Linked DNA regions of Homo sapiens: all the other regions are linked to region 3. Evidence: promoter capture Hi-C in 16 types of primary human blood cells and fetal thymus (Javierre and others, 2016). All regions are on one chromosome and are shown on one strand. Each heading gives the region's core, a stretch centred on a gene start or on the middle of the fragment in contact. The rest is flanking DNA. Distances are from core to core; before and after follow the strand shown.

Region 1 (2,805 bases), core at 160-2,659, 450 kb before region 3:
GTAGTCACCTTGTAGCTTTTAGGAGCAGTGCCTGTGTCTTAGTCTGTTTAGTAATGCTGTAACAGTCTAGTGGGACCACATAGTTTATAAAGAAATGATTAGTCTCATGGTTCTGGTGACTGGAAAGTTCAAGATTGCATATTTCCATCTGAGGGTCTCAGGCTGCCACATATCATGGTGGAATGTGGAAGGTTAGGCAGTGTGCAAAGAGATCAAATGATAAGAGAGGAGGCAGATGTTTATGTGTGCATGCCAGGTTCTTTTTAACTACCAGCTCTCGTAGGAACTATTTAGAGCATAAACTCACTAACCCAGCAGGGAAGGTATTAATCTATTCATGAGGTATCCACCTTCATGAACCAAATGCTTCCCACTAGGTCCTACCTCCTAACATTGCCACAATGGGGATCAAATTTCAACATGAAGCCTGGAGGGGACAAACATTAAAATTATAGCCACCTGCAAATTCTTTAACCTTCAAACAATCAAACACTTTGCTTCAGTCCTTCAGTTGTTTCCCTAGACAGATTAGAAGAGACAAACAAAAAAAATTGTAAATGAAGTCTGCTCTTCACCCTTTGGTTCTAGGGAAGGAACTGGGAACTGTGCTGTCACCAATTCAAGACCATGTTTGATATTGTGCCAGGAAGAAGGTCAGGCAAGGAAGAGTAAAATCATCACCAAATGTTTCTTTCTGAGACAGGGTCTTTCTCTGTTTTCCAGGCTGTTTTCATTTTTATTTTTTGGTAGAGATGGAGTCTGACTACCCAGGCTAGTCTCAAACTCCTGGCCCAAGCAAACCTCCTACCTTGGCCTCCCAAATTGCTGGGATTACAGGCATGGGCCACAGCTCCTGGCTAGATTTTTTTTTTCTTACAGTCTAAATATGTTCATAGATTTTTTTTTCTTGATTGGGCGTTTACTTGGTTGTTGTAGACCTTTGACTGTTTTTTGTTTTGTTGATGTTTCTGTTGGGGGACAAAAGTTCGGAGCCTCCTTGTTCATGATTTTGCTGTCTTCGCTTCTGATTTTATAATTAAACTTGTTGATATGGTTTGGATATTTGTATCCTCCAAATCTGATGTTAAAATGTGATCTCCAATTTTGGAGGTGAGCCTAGTGGGAGGTATTTTGGTCATGGAGGTGGATCCCTCATGAATGGCTTGGTGCCCTCCCTGTGGTAATAAATGAATTCTCACTTTATTAGTTCACATGATAGCTACTTATTTACAGGAGCCTGGCACCTCTCTTGCCATGTGATATGCCTGCTCCCCTTTCACCTTCTCTCTCCCTTTTTTTTTTTTTTTTGAGACAGAGTCTCACTCTGTCGCCCAGGCTGGAGTGCAGTGGAGCGATGTCAGCTCATTGCAACCTCCACTTCCCTCGTTCAAGCAATTCTCCTGCCTCAGCCTCCAGAGTAGTGGGGACTACAGGCGCGTGCTACCACACCGGGCTAATCTTTGTATTTTTTTAAGTAGAGATGGGGTTTCACTATGTTGGCCAGGCTGGTCTCGAACTCCTGACCTCATGACCTGCCCGCCTTGGCCTCCCAAAGTGCTGGGGTTACAGGCATGAGCCACCATGCCTGGCCTCCTCCTTCACCTTCTATTATGAATAAAAGCTCCTGAGGCCTCAGGAATAAGAGGCTATCAGAAATAGATGTTGCCACCATGCTTCTTGTACAGTCTGCCAAACCATTGGCCAAATAAACCTATTTTCTTTATATAGTACTGACCTCAGGTAGTCCTTTATAGCAAAGCAAATCAGATGAACACACTTATTATTTAAGATAATTGTAGGCTCACATGCAATTATAAGAAATAATAATCCTCTGTACTCTTTACCCACTTTTCCACAATGGTAACATCTTCCAAGACTATCAATATTACATCCAAAATATTGATATTGATGCAGTTAAGATCCAGAACATTTCCATTACTACAGAGATTCCTTATATTGCCCTTTTATGCCCATACTACCTTTCACCCCTGGCCCACCTCTTTCTTAACCCTTGCAACGACTAATCTGTTTTCCACTTTTAAAATGTTGTTATTTCCAGAATGATATATAAATAAAATCATACAGTATAAAACATTTTGTGATTAGTCATTTTCACTCAGCATAATTCTCTGGAAATTCATCCAGGTTATTGAATGTATTAATATAATGGAATAGAATTCCATTACATAGATGTTCCCCTGTTTATTATTCATCTGTTGAAGGACATCTGGGATGTTTTAAGTTCAGGAATATTATGAATGAAATTTGTATTACCATTTGTGTAAAGGTTTTTGTGTGAACACAAGTTTTTACTTCTATTAAATAAATGCCAAAGAATGCAATTATTGTTCTATATGAGAGGTCCATGGGTAGTTGGTTGCTTTGTTTTGTTTTTAAAGAAACTGCCTTACTCTTTATCAGAGTGGCTATAGCAGTTTGCATTATCACCAGAATGTATGAGTAATCTAGTTTCTCTGAATTTTTTTCTAACATTTGGTGTTTTCAACATTTTATCTGAGTCATTCTGATAGGTATCTAATAATACCCAATTGTAGTTTTATTGCTCCTCCCTAATAGCTACTGGCATTGAAAATATGTTCATGTGTTTCTTTGCCTTCTTGGATATTTTCTTTGGTAAAATGTCTTTTCATATCCAGGTTCTAATTGGGCTGTTTGCTTTTTTACTGTTGAGTTTTGACTGTTCTTTTATATGTACTAGATATAAGTGTGTTGTCAGATATGTGCTTGCAAACATTTTCTCCAAAATTTTAGCTTTATCTTTTATGCTTTTAATATGTTTTTTTT
Region 2 (2,779 bases), core at 144-2,643, 430 kb before region 3:
TACATGAGGGAAAAAAATTGTTATTGGAAAAAAAGCTAGCTTTTCTTAACAAGAGCTTTGCTTTTCTCTTACGGACATTGCAAATTTTGCAATTAATTTTACTTCTCTCTTTGCTCTAGGAAGCTGAAAACAAAATTGGTGACATGGTTAGAGTAACTGAAGGTGACCCTTTATTATGGATTTTGTATGCTATCCCACTCCTTGATTCATTTTATTTCATCCTCATCTTATCTTTATTCTATTTTCATTTTTTTACTGTGAAGGGATCAGCTAAAAATTAACAAAAGAAGATATTCTCAAGTAATTAACACAAAAAAAGAGATCGATTGTATTGTTCTTGCATAAAAGTCTAAATGTAATGGAAAAGGAATATTCTAAAGTAATAGTACATTATCCAAATGAGAAACAAATAAATTATTAATTTCAAAACATTTGCAAACAATTCAAAAATCAAAATTAAATCACAAAACAACAGTATATATACACATATATTTTCAATGGACTAAAATACCTTTGATTACTATGTTCTTCATTTGAAGAAATAGTGAAAAATGCTAATATATCCAAAAGAATTGAAAGCAGGGTCTCAAAGAAATATATGCACACCCATGTTCATGGCAGCACTGTTCACAACAGTCAAGAAATGGAAGCAACTCAAATGTCCACGAATACTTGAATGAATAAACAAAACGTGGTGTATACATATGTTGGACTATTATTCAGCCTTAAAAAGGAAAGAAGTCCTGTCACATGTTACAATATGGATGAACCTTGAGGAACCATCCACGGATGCTTGAATGAATAAACAAAACGTGGTGTATACATACGATGGACTAGTATTCAGCCTTAAAAAGGAAATAAATCTTGTCACATGCTACAACATGGATGAACCTTGAGGACATTGTGCTAAGTGAAATAGGCCAGTCACAAAAAGACAAATACTTTACGAGTCCACTTACACGAAATATCTAAAGTAGTGAAATTCATAGAAATAGAAAATAGGACTGTGGTTACCAGAGACTGGAGTGACGGTGAAAAGCGGAGTTGTTGTCTAATGGGTATAGAGTTTCTGTTTTCCAAGATGAAAAATTTGTAACAATGTGAATATACTTAACATTACTGAAATGTACATTTAATCATAGTTAATATGGTAATTTTAAATATTATGTTGTGTGTTTTTTAACCAGAGTAAAAAAGGGTAAAAAGGTAATATATTTTAGGGCTTAAAATAGTTATTTTTTTCCAAGATGAAAGCTATGAGTAAACTTAAACCAGAAAATCGACTAGTTTTAAATCTACAGAATAAACAGTAGAGCCTTCCTTTTAGCCACATGATGTCGCTGTCCACCATAGAGTGTTCTCTAGGAAGGAAAATACCCAGAGCCCCTTTGTTACTTCAGAGAAGCGGAGGAATAAGAGAAGCAGCAGGACTTTAACAGAGACTAGAATATTTAAATTTTTGCAAAACATGCTCTTCTAATTTGATCAAAACATTGAGGATTGGTAATGGCGTCTTCTATCAGAAGGGGCCGAGGGGCCTGGACACGGCTGCTCTCGCTTCTGCTCCTCGCAGCCTGGGAGGTGGGGAGCGGCCAGCTCCGCTACTCCGTCCCCGAGGAGGCCAAACACGGCACCTTCGTGGGCCGCATCGCGCAGGACCTGGGGCTGGAGCTGGAGGAGCTGGTGCCGCGCCTGTTCCGGGTGGCGTCCAAAAGACACGGGGACCTTCTGGAGGTAAATCTGCAGAATGGCATTTTGTTTGTGAATTCTCGGATCGACCGGGAGGAGCTGTGCGGGCGGAGCGCGGAATGTAGCATCCACGTGGAGGTGATCGTGGACAGGCCGCTGCAGGTTTTCCATGTGGAAGTGGAGGTGAAGGACATTAACGACAACCCGCCAATATTTCCAATGACAGTAAAGACTATCCGGTTTCCCGAATCAAGGCTGCTTGATTCTCGGTTTCCTCTAGAGGGAGCATCTGATGCAGATATAGGAGTAAATGCTCTTCTCTCCTACAAGCTCAGCTCCAGTGAGTTTTTCTTCCTAGATATACAGGCAAATGATGAACTAAGCGAATCTTTGTCTCTCGTGCTGGGGAAATCGCTGGACAGAGAGGAAACTGCTGAGGTTAATTTGTTACTGGTGGCTACTGATGGGGGCAAACCTGAGCTCACGGGCACCGTTCAAATACTTATTAAGGTATTAGATGTAAATGACAATGAACCAACTTTTGCCCAATCAGTTTACAAAGTAAAATTGTTAGAGAATACGGCAAATGGGACCTTAGTGGTTAAGTTAAACGCTTCTGATGCAGATGAAGGACCGAACAGCGAGATTGTGTATTCACTCGGTAGTGATGTGTCCTCCACTATACAGACTAAGTTTACCATAGATCCCATCTCAGGGGAAATCAGAACTAAGGGAAAATTAGATTATGAAGAAGCAAAGTCCTACGAGATTCAGGTCACTGCAACTGACAAAGGAACCCCTTCAATGTCAGGACATTGTAAAATTTCATTAAAACTTGTGGACATCAATGATAACACACCAGAAGTCTCAATAACGTCTCTCTCACTTCCCATCTCAGAGAACGCTTCCCTGGGCACTGTCATTGCTCTCATCACGGTGTCGGATCGCGACTCTGGTACGAATGGACATGTCACCTGCTCCCTGACGCCCCACGTCCCTTTCAAGCTGGTGTCCACCTTCAAGAATTACTACTCGTTGGTGCTGGACAGCGCCCTGGACCGCGAGAGCGTGTCAGCCTATGAGCTGGTGG
Region 3 (2,700 bases), core at 126-2,625:
TCCTCATCCAGATCATCATCTCTTATCTGATCTCCTTGATTCTCCAGTCACTCCCCCTGAAATTAATTCTCCATACTGCAGCCAAACTGATTTTTTAAAATGCAGATGTAATCATGTTAATCAGATATTTAAAACCCATCTTTGTACTTGAATTACCTTTAGGATAAATTCAAGAATGCATGATATGACCTGTATAATGATTCATGTTCTCACCATGCTTTTAACCCTAATTTCATTGTTAGACCCTCCCCTTCCATAGTTTTTAAAGTCCAAGGCATACTTCATTTCTCTGTGTTCCTCAAAATGCCCATCTGAAATATTCCTCCTTCTCCTGGCTAGTTCCTTCAGATCACAATGTATTTTTCATTACCTCAGGAAAGCTTTCACTGATGTCCCAAGTCCGACTTTGATCTTAATTATTTTATTTTTGACAGACACTTAACCAGCACTTACAAACCACTTTGTAAATATTAATTCATTAGATGCCTACGATAATAATCATAGGAGACAAATATTATTACCCCATTTTACAGGTGAGGAAACAAAGGTATCTATAACTTGCCCAAGCTTATAGATAGTAAGTCACATAACCAGGATTCTAATATTGATAATTTGGTTCCAGATCCCATATTCCCAAGCACTAAGGTATGCAGCCTCCTAGGTACAAGAAGTCTTTTCTAGGTATTTCTATATTACTTTTTATAAATGCATACATTATGACATACTTCGTTTACTTGTCTGCCAATTTTTCTAGCTTGTGAGCTCTGTAAGAGCAAGAATTATCTCTAACTTATTTGTGCCATGTCCTTCTTTATATTTTTAAAATATAAAAGTGAAAAAAGTAATGATATTACCAACTATAGCTGACAACAAGTATTTACAAGAGTGAAGGAGATAATATATTTGTAATTACTCGAGAAATGACTTAAATAAAAAATTATTTCTTCAGTTCAGAATATTTTAACAGATCCTTTAGTGCCGAGCATTCAAAACAGTGATAATGCAGTGTATGGACTTTTCTGGATTCAAATTCAAACAAACCAACAGCAAAGGACATTTTGGAGAGAACTGGGGAAAACCAAATGCAGTATAAATTACACCAAGGAATTATTGCTCAAGTTGTTGATTGTGAACGTTTTATTACAATTATCTTTTAGAAGGCCTTACCTATTAAAAATACTTAGTGAAGTATTTAAAGGAAAAAAAATGATGTCTGGGATTTGTTTCGAATGTTCCGGATGTATTTATGAATTACTTTTTCAAAGAGGAAAACTTTTTTAATGAAAAAAAAAACATGGAGACACATGGTGGCGCTACAGGATAAGACGAAAACAGTACATAGGCTGGCACGGTGAGCTTCGCTATTCAGGAGAACAGAAAGCATCCAACCCACTGAAAAGACAGGCATTAAAGGAGCTTCGCCTACAGAGCTGCTGGAGGATACACTCTCCAGGGGGTTCCTGTTAAAAACCAGAGCTTCAGCTTCCAAAATTACGGCTGAGCTTCAGTTTTTCCACAAGAGATTGCCTAAAGGAACCATGGAGATCAGAGGGGCACTCGATCTGCGAAAAAGGCAAGTTCTAATATTCCTTGTTTTGCTGGGATTGTCTCGGGCAGGTACTGAATCTGCACACTATTCTGTGGCAGAGGAAACAGAAATTGGCTCTTTTGTGGCTAATCTAGCGAGGGACCTAGGGCTGGGGGTGGAGGAGCTGTCTTCACGTGAAGCCCGGGTAGTGTCTGATGATAATAAAAAGTATTTGCACCTTGATTTGCTGACTGGGAATTTGCTCCTAAATGAGAAACTAGACCGAGACGAGCTGTGTGGCTCCACCGAGCCCTGTGTGCTGCATTTTCAGGTGGTTTTGGAAAACCCTTTACAGTTTTTTCGGTTTGAGCTGTGTGTCAAAGACATAAATGATCACTCCCCTACATTTCTAGACAAGGAAATACTTATTAAAATATCAGAAGGTACCACTGTTGGAGCTACCTTTCTAATGGAGAGTGCTCAAGATTTGGATGTCGGAAGCAACAGTCTCCAAAACTACACAATTAGCCCCAATTCTCACTTCTACATTAAAATTCCCGACAGTAGTGACAGAAAGATATACCCAGAGCTGGTCCTAGATAGAGCTTTAGATTATGAACAGGAAGCTGAACTCAGATTAACACTCACAGCAGTGGATGGTGGATCCCCGCCCAAGTCTGGGACAACTTTGGTTCTCATCAAGGTGTTGGACATCAATGATAATGCCCCTGAGTTTCCTCAGAGTCTCTATGAGGTGCAAGTCCCCGAGGACAGACCCCTTGGCTCCTGGATTGCCACCATCTCAGCTAAGGATCTGGATGCAGGAAACTATGGAAAAATATCTTACACATTTTTCCATGCATCAGAAGATATTCGTAAAACATTTGAAATTAATCCAATATCTGGGGAAGTTAATTTGAGATCACCCCTGGATTTTGAAGTAATACAGTCCTACACTATAAATATTCAGGCAACAGATGGTGGGGGTCTTTCAGGAAAATGCACCCTTCTAGTTAAAGTTATGGATATAAACGACAACCCACCAGAAGTGACCATATCGTCGATTACAAAGAGAATTCCAGAGAATGCCTCAGAGACCCTAGTAGCTCTTTTTAGTATCCTAGACCAAGACTCTGGAGACAATGGGAGGATGATTTGCTCTATTCAAGATA
Region 4 (2,846 bases), core at 189-2,688, 390 kb before region 3:
CCTTGTTGAAGGAGACCGTGAAGAGTCATGATGTTTTACTGGTTATAAAATGGAAAGAGTTTTCCCTGGGAGAATATGGAGACTAACAGGTATTCATGAGAAGAGAGTAACTTAAGTGAGTATACAGAAAATTCCAAATGTACCTAGAAATGAGGAATAGTCCACTTTGGGTAAAGCACATGGTTCCCATAAGAGAGAGTGTGATATAAAGCAAGAAAAGTAATATGAGAAAAACCTTTTGTATAACTTTGAGTACTAGACGAGTAATTTTGACACTCTTCAAAGTCATTTGAAAGCTGTCAAAAAGTGTGAAGCAATACGAATAAAAAGTATTAACGGAAGATGACTGCAAGGATTAAATGAAGGAGAATGAAATAGGAATGGACAGGTTACACAATAAGAAGCTACTGCAATACACCAGGAGAGCAGCAATTATAAAAACTTATTTAGGAAAGCATCTGAATACAGACATAATTATTTTACATGCCATTGGGAACATTGGAGTGAAACATTCCAGAAAACGAACACAGTAAGGTAGATCCAAAAAGGATGAAATACCTCAAGACTTGATCAAAGGGCTGCTGTATGTGAGATGGCTGAGCACTGAAATTTATCTAATAAAATAAACTTACATTTTAAAAGAAATAATACAAATCATATTTGAGATTGTAAAAATAGGCATATATTCATAACACACAAGTGTTCGAAAGGATAGAATGAGGAAACAAATATAAAATGATGAACTCCTGAAACAGTATATATAGATTCTGCTAAAGCAAAAAATTCAGAATACTTCCTCCTCAAAAAGTTCACATGATACAAATTCTTCCCCTTCAAAGATTCCCCAAACCTTCTCTTATTTTGTTTTCCCAAGAGAAGTGTCTGGATAGTTGCTAATGTTTCTTGCCTCCTAAAAAGAAAACACACACACACACACCGCTTTCTAAGTTTCTCTTTCATCAATCAGTAGATTCTTGAGATCCTGGGTCCCTAAAAGAGTACAGGATTTTTCTTAACAAGCGATACTGAATCAAGAATATGAAGTTTCCTGGGATCTAGATCAAAGGAATTTAAACTTGCAGTTGTTTAAATTCATGTTGTCACTTAGGTTTCTATCTTTATTTAAAACTGTGTGAAAAAAAAGTTTTTCTAAGGCATGAGGAAGCTACAGTTCTGGTAACACTGAGTATTCAAAAGCCATCAGTCGCCTAAGAATGCTTCTAACAATCATGAGAAATGCTATTTTAACCTTTAACAACAATGAAGAAAAAAATTCAGAGTTTGAAATAAAACTTTTCATCTGATTAATAGTTTGTAATGGTTTGTAATTCTTACTTACATGATGGCCACATGATGTCGCTCTTTACCGCAAATTCTTTCGTAATCAGCAAAAGGAAGTCATTCCTTTTCGCACTGGAAAGACGCTCCACTCTCTTTCACTCTTTGGATGCACAACAATGGCCACACATCGAGATTGAAATGAAGGGATAAAAACATTCCTATAAATTCGAAGGCAAGTTTTGCTGACTAGAAAAACAAGCCAATAATTTGAAATGGTGTGCCCGAATGGATACGACCCAGGGGGCCGACATCTACTGCTGTTTATTATAATTCTAGCAGCTTGGGAGGCAGGGAGAGGCCAGCTCCACTACTCGGTCCCCGAGGAGGCTAAACATGGCAACTTCGTGGGCCGCATCGCGCAGGACCTGGGGCTGGAGCTGGCGGAGCTGGTGCCGCGCCTGTTCCGGGCGGTGTGCAAATTCCGTGGGGATCTTCTGGAGGTAAATCTGCAGAATGGCATTTTGTTTGTGAATTCTCGGATCGACCGCGAGGAGCTGTGCGGGCGGAGCGCGGAGTGCAGCATCCACCTGGAGGTGATCGTGGAAAGGCCGCTGCAGGTTTTCCATGTGGACGTGGAGGTGAAGGACATTAACGACAACCCTCCGGTGTTCCCAGCGACACAAAGGAATCTGTTCATCGCGGAATCCAGGCCGCTTGACTCTCGGTTTCCACTAGAGGGCGCGTCCGATGCAGATATCGGGGAGAACGCCCTGCTCACTTACAGACTGAGCCCCAATGAGTATTTCTTCCTGGACGTGCCAACCAGCAACCAGCAGGTAAAACCTCTTGGACTTGTATTACGGAAACTTTTAGACAGAGAAGAAACTCCGGAGCTTCATTTATTGCTCACGGCCACCGATGGAGGCAAACCCGAGCTGACTGGCACCGTTCAATTACTCATCACGGTACTGGACAACAATGACAATGCCCCAGTGTTCGACAGAACCCTGTATACGGTGAAATTACCAGAAAACGTTTCTATCGGAACGCTGGTGATTCACCCCAATGCCTCAGATTTAGACGAAGGCTTGAATGGGGATATTATTTACTCCTTCTCCAGTGATGTTTCTCCAGATATAAAATCCAAGTTCCACATGGACCCCTTAAGTGGGGCAATCACAGTGATAGGACATATGGATTTTGAAGAAAGTAGAGCACACAAGATCCCAGTCGAGGCTGTCGATAAAGGCTTCCCACCCCTGGCTGGTCATTGTACAGTTCTTGTGGAAGTTGTGGATGTAAATGACAATGCTCCACAGTTGACTCTCACTTCCCTGTCTCTCCCTATTCCAGAGGACGCCCAACCAGGTACCGTCATCACATTGATTAGCGTGTTTGACCGAGATTTTGGAGTCAACGGACAGGTTACCTGCTCCCTGACGCCCCGCGTTCCCTTCAAGTTGGTGTCCACCTTCAAGAATTACTATTCATTGGTGCTGGACAGCGCTCTGGACCGCGAGAGTGTGTCCGCCTATGAGCTGGTGGTTACCGCGCGGGACGGGGGC
Region 5 (2,700 bases), core at 176-2,675, 350 kb after region 3:
TATCTGGGGACTGGAAAGGTATCTTCTCTGACATTTTCACTGAAACAAGATGCAAAATGAAAGGAAGAAGCAATACTTGGAGGAGCCAGATAGAAGAGTATGCTTACCAATTAATCCCTCAATCTCAATCTGGAGGTGCCGGCACTTGAAGTCAGGATCAGCCCCGTTCTTGTGCAGAACTATCTGGGAAATACATTCTTCAATCAACTTATAGTACTGAGGTCTACAAGAGAATAAAAACAGGGTCATCAAAGGAAAATCAAAATATAATTTTCAGAAGTATTCAGGACCAAGAAAACGTAATTGCTCTGACAACTGAGAGACCTGGAAAAACTTTTGTAAAGTTAACACAAGTATTGCTGCCATGCTAAGAAAACTCCTTTTTCCACATCAGCTACCCTACCCTATCTACTTCAAATAATCAAAACTTCTTGCCATCCGCTCCTAGTGCCAATACTTTCCCATCTAAAAATTTGCGTTTGATCCTTCCTGTGATGGATAGTGCTATTGCTAAATCTATACTTCCAGGAAACTAGAAAGAATTTTAAATTGCCACTTCTGTTTGCTAACATCTTCATCCTATTTACCTACTCCCCTCCAAAAACAGAACGGCATTTCACCTTATACACTCTGACCTCTGCCATAGGGATGCCTTTGAGTTGGATTAAAGAAATAAGACAACTTCCTTTATATCGGTGACTAATGAACCCTAATCTTGGGTCTTTGTCTTTACATTTTCCTTTTACAGAACAATCTTTGAATTTAAGGAATTCACTCTCTCCACTTAGGCTCAAATTCAAAACTTCTCATAAGCACAGCATCTTACCTGGCCTCATAGTCATTTCGGACCAAGAGTAAGTGCTGCAGGATGGAAAGGAAGTGTGGCTCTGCCTTTGAATCCTTCACTGTGTTTAAGAGAATCTGAAAGACTTCATTAAAGTCAGTGGAAAAGGGAAATAGGCTAAGGAAAGCAAATATGCAGAAATTATGTTTGACAGGTGGCTTATTTAACTCTTGAAAAAGCTAGGGAAAAGTAGCAAGACACCACTTCCATTCTACTGGCTGTTCTTCCTGTAAACATCACCAGAAACTTTAAGCTTTCTAAAACGTCCTTTAAGGGACCAGTGAATTGGGTGGTACTATACACACAGAGGATTCCTAGTAAGTACTTGGCTTGAAGATCAGGCAGTAGACAGAAAATAAGAGGTAACTGCCTCAAAGTCACTTACTGAAAATATTAACAGGTAACTAAATTACTCCCTCTGTCAGTCCAAACATCTCTAAAAGCCAGTTCTACATCTTAGTAAGCTAAGCTATCACATTCTAGGAAGTTTACACTGATTTTGATGGCTTCCATGCTCAACAACCCTCAGATCACCTTTACTGACTTCCCTGATCTATGATAAGCTAAGTAAAGCCAGCGCAATAAAAATACACCTGCCTTATTTAATGAGAAGACACATAAGCCTGATGCTCTGTTCTGAGTCATCATCTCCCAAACCATTCCACACAGGGATCAGGGAACTAAATACAATGAATGTCTCATCTGCCTTGAACCTAGTCAGCAAAAGGATATTCCATCTCCATGCGAATGTCATCCAGCCGTCCCTTCAGGTCATAGGAATCCTCTTCCCCTTGTTCATCAAACACATTTAGTTGCACTCTCATATCTTCATTTTCAATCTCTCGAAGGTCCTGTCAACAACAAAAGTAGAAGTCAGGGAACCCAAAAGTATCCTCTGTGGTTAGAAACCTAAGCTTTTCAACCTGGTTTTTAATTGAAAACCAGAATTATCCCCGGGATTATTGGGGCTGTAGAGCAAGAAGGAACCAGTCTAGCCTTTCTAATGAAGTGTAATATCTTACCTGCAACACCTGATGTAGCCCCAAACGCATCAGTTCACTTCTGATGTGAACTCGGAAGTCAAGTTCCTCCGCTGGTGTGATGAGAGCATTGATCAGCTGTAGGCATCCAACCTAAAATAAGAAAATTCAGCAGCTATGTCAATGCTAACTCCTGGAGATCAAGAATCCATTTTCTTTACATGCATTCTTAGGTCCCCAATACAACCTGAAAGATACAATACAAAAACTCTAAAGATGACTTTTCTACTATAGCAATGAGACCTGGTTTGAGTACAGATCCGGAGAGCCTAAACTCTAAATGGTTTCAAGGATTTGAGAGTATATGTTATTGTAGGTCTTGGTTTTCCTAGATTGTAAATAGATATCATGCCTTTTTCCATCTCATAATGAGGAAAACAGTTCATTCTTTACCTTCTTAGAAAGAAGGTTAATCATTTTCCCTTCATAACAGATTCTGAAATGTAAAATATATAGTTGGGAGGCACTCCATGTATTTTATTAAAAGGTCAAATGAATTTAAGTCTGTCCATCTTGAATTCTATTCTTGGGCCCAGTTTCAGGGGATATACATGCCTTCAGTGCAATAGTGGTTCCACTTTTTAATCCATCCAGCAGCGGCTGGAAACGTTCCACTTCATCCATCTCAGCTCTTTCTGTCATTGCCTCCAAAACCCTTTCATTCCTGCCCAAGAGAAAGGAAACGGAGAGAACTTTCCAGGTACTGTGACACGGACACGTATAATGAGTAAATTACACAGGGGCACAGACCGATTAGGAAACAGGACATTATCAGTGTTCCGGATTTCTCACATTATTATTCTCACCACTCAGTTT
Region 6 (2,846 bases), core at 273-2,772, 330 kb before region 3:
TTTTGCTTCCTGTCTAATTTACTTTTCTTCAGAATTCTGCTTTCTGATTTTTGTTTTTGCTTTGAAATATTTTTATATTAATTATACTGATTCATTTCTCTTCTTTTCATTTGTGTTTGCAGGAGATGTCCTCTTCCCAGCCTTTTATTTTAAACCTTTTAGTATTATGGGCATATTCCACAAGTTCTTTGCTACTGTCTCACTGAGTAGCAGAGTCTAATTTTTCTTTCCTTGAACTTTGACTGGTCTTAATATTGGAAGTAACATTCTGGGATTTATGAAGTCAGGTCATAAGAAGTCTTACAGTATGCTTTGGTCTCTGAGAATATTTGTTTTGGGGGAAGCCTGCCACCATGTAAGAATTCTGACTACCTTGAGATTGTCATACTGTAAAGAAGCTCAAGCTGGACTTGTGAGAAGCCAAATGGATAGAAAAATTACTATCCAGTCTCCAGTTGTCTTAGCTTTCCAAGCTTAGGTGCCAGAAAAATGTAGAAGGCTTCAGGTGACTGTAGTGTGTTGGAGCTGGCTCTTTTACTGGCTTATGAGAACTGATAATGCAAATTTATTCCCAACTCTGGATTCAATGATGTCACTTTGGTAGCTTGAAATTGGCCATGGTAGGAGTATTTCTGCCACAGAAATAGGCAAATGCTACAAAACAGAGTTTTTTGTTTTTCTTTTTTCCCAGAGACCTAGTTGTTAAGCATTTACCAGTACACTACTGCACCTGATTGCAAGCAAGAACCACTCAGTTGAGTCAGAACCAGGAGAGGTAATATTAAGTTGTTTTAAGATATTAGGTAGTTGGGATGGTTTACTATATAGCAATGGATAACCTGAACAAGTACTCTTTCTTAGATAATCTATAAATTTTAACTTGAATATTTATTTAGTTTATATTTACAATACCTAGTGATATCTTTAGGCACAAATATTTCAATTTTTTGTGCGTTATTTTTGTCTCACCATTTTTATGTCTCTATTTCCTTCCTTTGTTGATCTTCTTTTGAAATGACTGAGTACTTTTTATTGTTCCATTTCCTTCTGTATTATTTGGAAGCCCTTTTCCGAATAGCTAGTGCTTACCCTAGAAAATTAAGCATGTATCCTTGATATATCAAAATCAAAAGTTAACTGAAACCCTTCCTCCTTCTGGGAAATGCAGGGACCTTACATTTTTAAAATCTTTTTAATCCCTTTTGACTTATATACTATTTCTGTCATGCTTTAAAAATATTTTAAAACCCCATAAGATATTAGTATTATTTTATACAATCAACATTGTTTTAAATGTACTTACATATTTACCAGTTTTGTTTCTCTTCCTTACTTCTTGCCCCTCTGACCTTTCATCAGGGATTATTGTCTTTCCATGTTAGAATAATTTGAGAGTTTCCTTTAGTCCAAAGATGCTGGTGAGGAATGATTTCAGGTTTTGTTTTTCTGAAAATGTCTTTATTTCATCATAATTATTGAAAAGCATTTTTTCTGAGGGTATAATCTTAGGTGTGACCCCCACAGCACATAGTAAATATTATTCCAGTGTCTACTGGTTTCCATTGTTGCTGTCAAGAATTTAGCTGTCAATCTAAATGTCATTCCTTTAAAGGTATTCTGTTTATTTTCCTTTGGCTGCTTTTCAGATTTTCTGTGTGTCTGATATTTTGCAGTTTTACCATGCTGTGTCTTTATAATCATCCTGTTCTGGATTCAGTAGGATTTTTTTTAATTTTTAATTTTTCCGTAAGTTATTGGGGGTACAGGTGGTATTTGATTACATGAGTAAGTTCTTTGGTGGTGATTTGTGAGATTTTGGTGCATCCATCACCTGAGCAGTATACATTGCACCATATTTGCAATCTTTTATCCCTCGCCACCCCCCACTCTTGCCCCCAAGTCCCCAACGTCCATTGTATAGGATTTTTGAATTTGTGAATTAATGCCTTTACATCACTTTGAGCATATCCTCAGCTATAATGTTCTCCAATGTTGCTTCTGTTCCATTGTATTTCTATAGTATTATTTTAGTACTCTAATTAAACATATTTTAATCTTATTACTCTATCCCATCTATTTCTACCTTTTATTTTAACACCTTTTGCTCTTTGGGCTTTATTGTGGATAGTTCACCCACCTTAAAGTTTAATAATTCTCTCTTCTTGCTGTTGTCTGAATTTGTACCCCCAAATTCATGTGTTGAAAATTCAATCCCTTATACAACAGTGTTGGGAGGTGGGGAATTTCAGGAAATGTTTAGATTATGAGGGATCTGCCCTCATGAATAAATTAACGGCACTGTAAAAGGACTTGATGGAAGGAGCCTGTCCCTCTCTTATGCTTTTGGCTCTGTCATGTGACGATGCAGCAAGAAGATCTTCACCAGATGCTGGTGCCTTGATCTTGGACTTCCCCTAGGCTCCAGAATTGTGAGAAGTAAATTTCCGTTCTCATAAATTACTCAGTCTGTGGCATTCTGTTATAGCAGCACAAATGGTCTAAGATACTTTTATTTATTCTTTTTCAAATTTATTGTTACTTTGTATAATTTCTAGTTTCCTCTCGAAACTTTCAAGCTTGGCATTTATATCTGGAACACAATAAGCTCATGGTTTTAGCGTCTATTTCTGATATGTCCAGTAACTGGGATCCTCATGGGTCTATTCCTGTGGTGTGTTTTAAAATTGTATCTTTATGGTGTTTTGTCTCCACATAAACCTGGTTATCTTTGATTTTGTGCTGAAAGTTGTATTAAACACTTCTTCCTGGAAATAATTTGGGGCTTATAACATTTTCTTTCTCCAGAATGGATTTTAATTGACTTTTGCCAGGCATCTTGGGGCACT
Region 7 (2,727 bases), core at 15-2,514, 480 kb before region 3:
CACTCATAAGTGGGAGCTAAGCTATGAGGCTGCAAAGGCATAAGAATGATACAGTGCACTTTGGGGACTCAGGGGTGTAGGGTGGGAAGTGGGTGAGGGATAAAAGACTACAAATTGAGTTCAATGTATACTGCTCTGGTGACGGGTACACCAATATCTCACAAATCACCACTAAAGAACTTACTCACGTAACCAAATACCACCTGTTCCCCAAAATCCTACGGAATAACCTCCTTATACTTTTCCCCTTCTTTTTCTAACCATGGAGAATGCCATATGAACACCTCAGACCTTTATATTTTTCTCTTGTTGTATACACTGGTTAGGCCCTTTGGAACAATGACGACAGGATGATTAAAGTGATGATAGCAGACATCCCTGTCTTGTTCTGGATTTCAAAGGGAAAGCTTTAATCATTTCACCATTAAGTATGATGTTTGCTTTAGCTTTTTTTTTTTCCCCTGGACACCCTTACCAAGTTACAAATATTCTCTTATATGCCTAAGGATACAACTAATATCTGCTAAAAATCTTAAGATTAATTAAGATTATTTTAAAATCATGAAAGGTTGTTGAATTTTATTAAGTAATTTTTCTGCATGTACATAGATAATCATGATTTTCCCTTTAGTTCATTAACTTTGCATATATACTAATTACTTTTATAATGTTAAGTCAACCTCATATCTTGGAGAAATTCTACTTATGCTGTATTATTCTTTTTTATGTACTACTGGATTTAATTTTCTAATAATTAGTATGGGTTTTTTTTCATTTATTTACATTAATGACATTAGACTGGGCTTTTCCTTTTTTGTGTGTATTTTTTACAATAGGATTCACTATCAGGTTATTTTAGCATTAGAAAATCATTTAGGAAGTGTTCCTTCTTATTAATTAGGATAGTTTGTATATGATTGAAATGACTTAATTTTTCTTTTCTTTCTTTTTCTTTTATTGAGACAGGCTCTTGCTCTCTCACCCAGGCTGGAATGCAGTGGTGCGATCATGGCTCACTGCAGCTTCCACCTCCTGGGCTCAAGCGATCCTCCTGCCTCAACCTCTCAAGAATCTGGGACCACAGGCACATACCACACGCCCAGCTAATTTTTTATTTTTAGTCGCGATGAGGTCTCACTGTGTTGCATGGGATGATCTCGAACTCCTGGGCTCAAGCCATCCTCCTACCTCGGCCTCCCAAAGTGTTGGGATTATAGGTGTGAGCCACTGTGCCTGGCCCTAACAATTCTTTGTTAGATGAATATTCATGTTAACATTTTTATGCCTTTGCAAAATATAATTCCCAGCAGAACATGGTCATATACCATGATTGTCTCCTTTTCTTCTTTCTACTTTTCCTGAAGTTAATGCTTGACTTTTCTTCATGTGCTTAGTTTTCCTTGGACCTCTTGTTAATTTTTTGCACATTCTTCAATAACTCTTAGTACAGTTTTCTATGTGGTATATCATTTCAGGTAATCAGAGAAAGTATTAATACAAAAGAGCTATAAGATACCAGAATGTTTAGGCCCAGATCCAGAGAGGAGTAATTGTTGTGGGTTATTACCTAGTAACCAGGTAACAATGAAGCTCTGGTAGCTTTAAAGACCCAAGGCTGGCATTTGGCAGTTTGGGAGGATTTCATGGGTCTGACTCATGTACTGGCTGTGAAAGTTGATTTGAGCTAAAATGACCCCGGTTTGGTCATCTGGGAAGCACTGAGGCTGGTCCAAGACTTGTGGCAGGTAGCCACTGAGTGGGAGGAGGGAGAGTGAGCCTAGACACAGCTGGGGGAACAGTTTTTAGGGAAAGGAAGACATGGGTTTCTCTCAGTGGTGTGCATCCTCAAATGGGGGCTTCCCAAGTTTGTGTGTCCTGGTCTGGAAGTTGTGGTGGGTAGAAGGAAACTTAAAACTCAGCATCGTTCTTGAACCATTCAGGCCTAGGCTGACCCTACTGCCCAGGGTATACCAACTCATGACACTTATCTGTCAAGGAACTCCAAATTCAATCTACTTTCTGCATTATCTCAGTGATATATTTGCATGCTTCTTCCTGTCTGTGTTTTGGGGGCAGGTTTGATGTCCATGGACCCTCTTTAGTCCTCTATGTATGTCCCCACCAAGCTTATCATTTTCTTGGAGATGGGAGAGAGCCCTTTTTCAAGGAGGGGTCTAAAACGGCATGGATTCCTGAGAAGACTAGGCTGGGTCAGGAGCTGAAGAGGTTTAAGGTTGGGACAGAAACTCTGGAGGTTAGCCTTGGTAAGAGTCTTTTGAGACCTACTCCATGAGTAAATCTGCTCTTCACCAAATTTCCAGATCCCCACAGTTCCTCTGAGCAGCTTCTCACTACTGTCATCTCTCCCAGATATGAACCAAATCCCTGGTTGCCAAGACAAGTTGACAAGGTTTGAAAAAGAAACTATTTTGAAACAGAACTTCAAGGAAAAATAAGAACCCATTCTCAGGCAAATCCTAGCAGCTTTGATTAGTAAAGAAACAGCAGTCCTTGTTTGATTCAGACAGTTTATTACTTACATAGACACAAAAGGAAATAAGCAGAATTTCCAGCTCTCCCACAGGACAGCACCAATACAAAAGGGGATGGCAACCTGAGTAATGAGACACCCTGTTGCTGAGGAGCTGAGTCCATTTGCAACTAAGAAGTTTATGGCTTGCAGTTCTGCCCTAAGAAAGATGAGGCAGAATGCCTCATACCTTATCA

The links. The method cuts DNA at HindIII sites, captures the fragments that hold promoters and counts their contacts. A CHiCAGO score of 5 or more calls a contact.
Region 1: a fragment that was not itself captured here is called in contact with the fragment with the promoter of PCDHB14 in region 3 in 5 of 17 cell types (erythroblasts, M1 macrophages, M0 macrophages and 2 more); the score reaches 10.9 in erythroblasts.
Region 2: the fragment with the promoter of PCDHA2 here is called in contact with the fragment with the promoter of PCDHB14 in region 3 in 8 of 17 cell types (M2 macrophages, M1 macrophages, erythroblasts and 5 more); the score reaches 17.5 in M2 macrophages.
Region 4: a contact is called between the fragment with the promoter of PCDHA7 here and the fragment with the promoter of PCDHB14 in region 3, in 5 of 17 cell types (M0 macrophages, neutrophils, erythroblasts and 2 more). The highest score is 7.0, in M0 macrophages.
Region 5: a contact is called between a fragment that was not itself captured here and the fragment with the promoter of PCDHB14 in region 3, in 3 of 17 cell types (endothelial precursors, fetal thymus and total B cells). The highest score is 7.2, in endothelial precursors.
Region 6: a contact is called between a fragment that was not itself captured here and the fragment with the promoter of PCDHB14 in region 3, in 4 of 17 cell types (M2 macrophages, M1 macrophages, M0 macrophages and 1 more). The highest score is 9.2, in M2 macrophages.
Region 7: a contact is called between a fragment that was not itself captured here and the fragment with the promoter of PCDHB14 in region 3, in 2 of 17 cell types (M2 macrophages and M1 macrophages). The highest score is 6.0, in M2 macrophages.

The regions. Positions count from the first base shown.
Region 1 is chr5:140,768,902-140,771,706 of GRCh38, forward strand. No RefSeq gene overlaps it. Among named protein-coding and RNA genes, the nearest start is that of PCDHA1, 16 kb to the right of the region's middle. The HindIII fragment of the contact is 3,232 bases long and covers 1-2,805 here.
Region 2 is chr5:140,793,459-140,796,237 of GRCh38, forward strand. PCDHA2 (protocadherin alpha 2) reads left to right here and starts at 1,394. Exons shown (of 4, transcript NM_018905.3): 1 at 1,394-2,779. The coding sequence starts at 1,507. All of the region lies in intron 1 of PCDHA1 (protocadherin alpha 1), which reads left to right. It also overlaps PCDHA@. The HindIII fragment of the contact is 8,329 bases long and covers 1-2,779 here.
Region 3 is chr5:141,221,968-141,224,667 of GRCh38, forward strand. It overlaps PCDHB14 (protocadherin beta 14), which reads left to right and starts at 1,376. Exons shown (of 1, transcript NM_018934.4): 1 at 1,376-2,700. The coding sequence starts at 1,539. It also overlaps PCDHB@. The HindIII fragment of the contact is 16,360 bases long and covers 566-2,700 here.
Region 4 is chr5:140,832,831-140,835,676 of GRCh38, forward strand. It overlaps PCDHA7 (protocadherin alpha 7), which reads left to right and starts at 1,439. Exons shown (of 4, transcript NM_018910.3): 1 at 1,439-2,846. The coding sequence starts at 1,554. All of the region lies in intron 1 of PCDHA1 (protocadherin alpha 1), which reads left to right. All of the region lies in intron 1 of PCDHA2 (protocadherin alpha 2), which reads left to right. The region is part of intron 1 of PCDHA3 (protocadherin alpha 3); the gene reads left to right. It also overlaps PCDHA4, PCDHA5, PCDHA6 and PCDHA@. RefSeq lists an enhancer at 2,732-2,846. The HindIII fragment of the contact is 15,813 bases long and covers 1-2,846 here.
Region 5 is chr5:141,576,649-141,579,348 of GRCh38, forward strand. DIAPH1 (diaphanous related formin 1) reads right to left here. Exons shown (of 28, transcript NM_005219.5): 9 at 2,440-2,548; 10 at 1,867-1,977; 11 at 1,577-1,695; 12 at 827-943; 13 at 108-223. Among named protein-coding and RNA genes, the nearest start is that of DIAPH1-AS1, 20 kb to the left of the region's middle. The HindIII fragment of the contact is 661 bases long and covers 1,096-1,756 here.
Region 6 is chr5:140,889,525-140,892,370 of GRCh38, forward strand. All of the region lies in intron 1 of PCDHA1 (protocadherin alpha 1), which reads left to right. All of the region lies in intron 1 of PCDHA2 (protocadherin alpha 2), which reads left to right. The region is part of intron 1 of PCDHA3 (protocadherin alpha 3); the gene reads left to right. All of the region lies in intron 1 of PCDHA4 (protocadherin alpha 4), which reads left to right. It also overlaps PCDHA5, PCDHA6, PCDHA7, PCDHA8, PCDHA9 and PCDHA10, and 4 more genes. Among named protein-coding and RNA genes, the nearest start is that of PCDHA13, 8.8 kb to the left of the region's middle. The HindIII fragment of the contact is 2,103 bases long and covers 472-2,574 here.
Region 7 is chr5:140,739,445-140,742,171 of GRCh38, forward strand. The region is part of intron 3 of LOC105378198 (a long non-coding RNA gene); the gene reads left to right. Among named protein-coding and RNA genes, the nearest start is that of ZMAT2, 40 kb to the left of the region's middle. The HindIII fragment of the contact is 1,719 bases long and covers 406-2,124 here.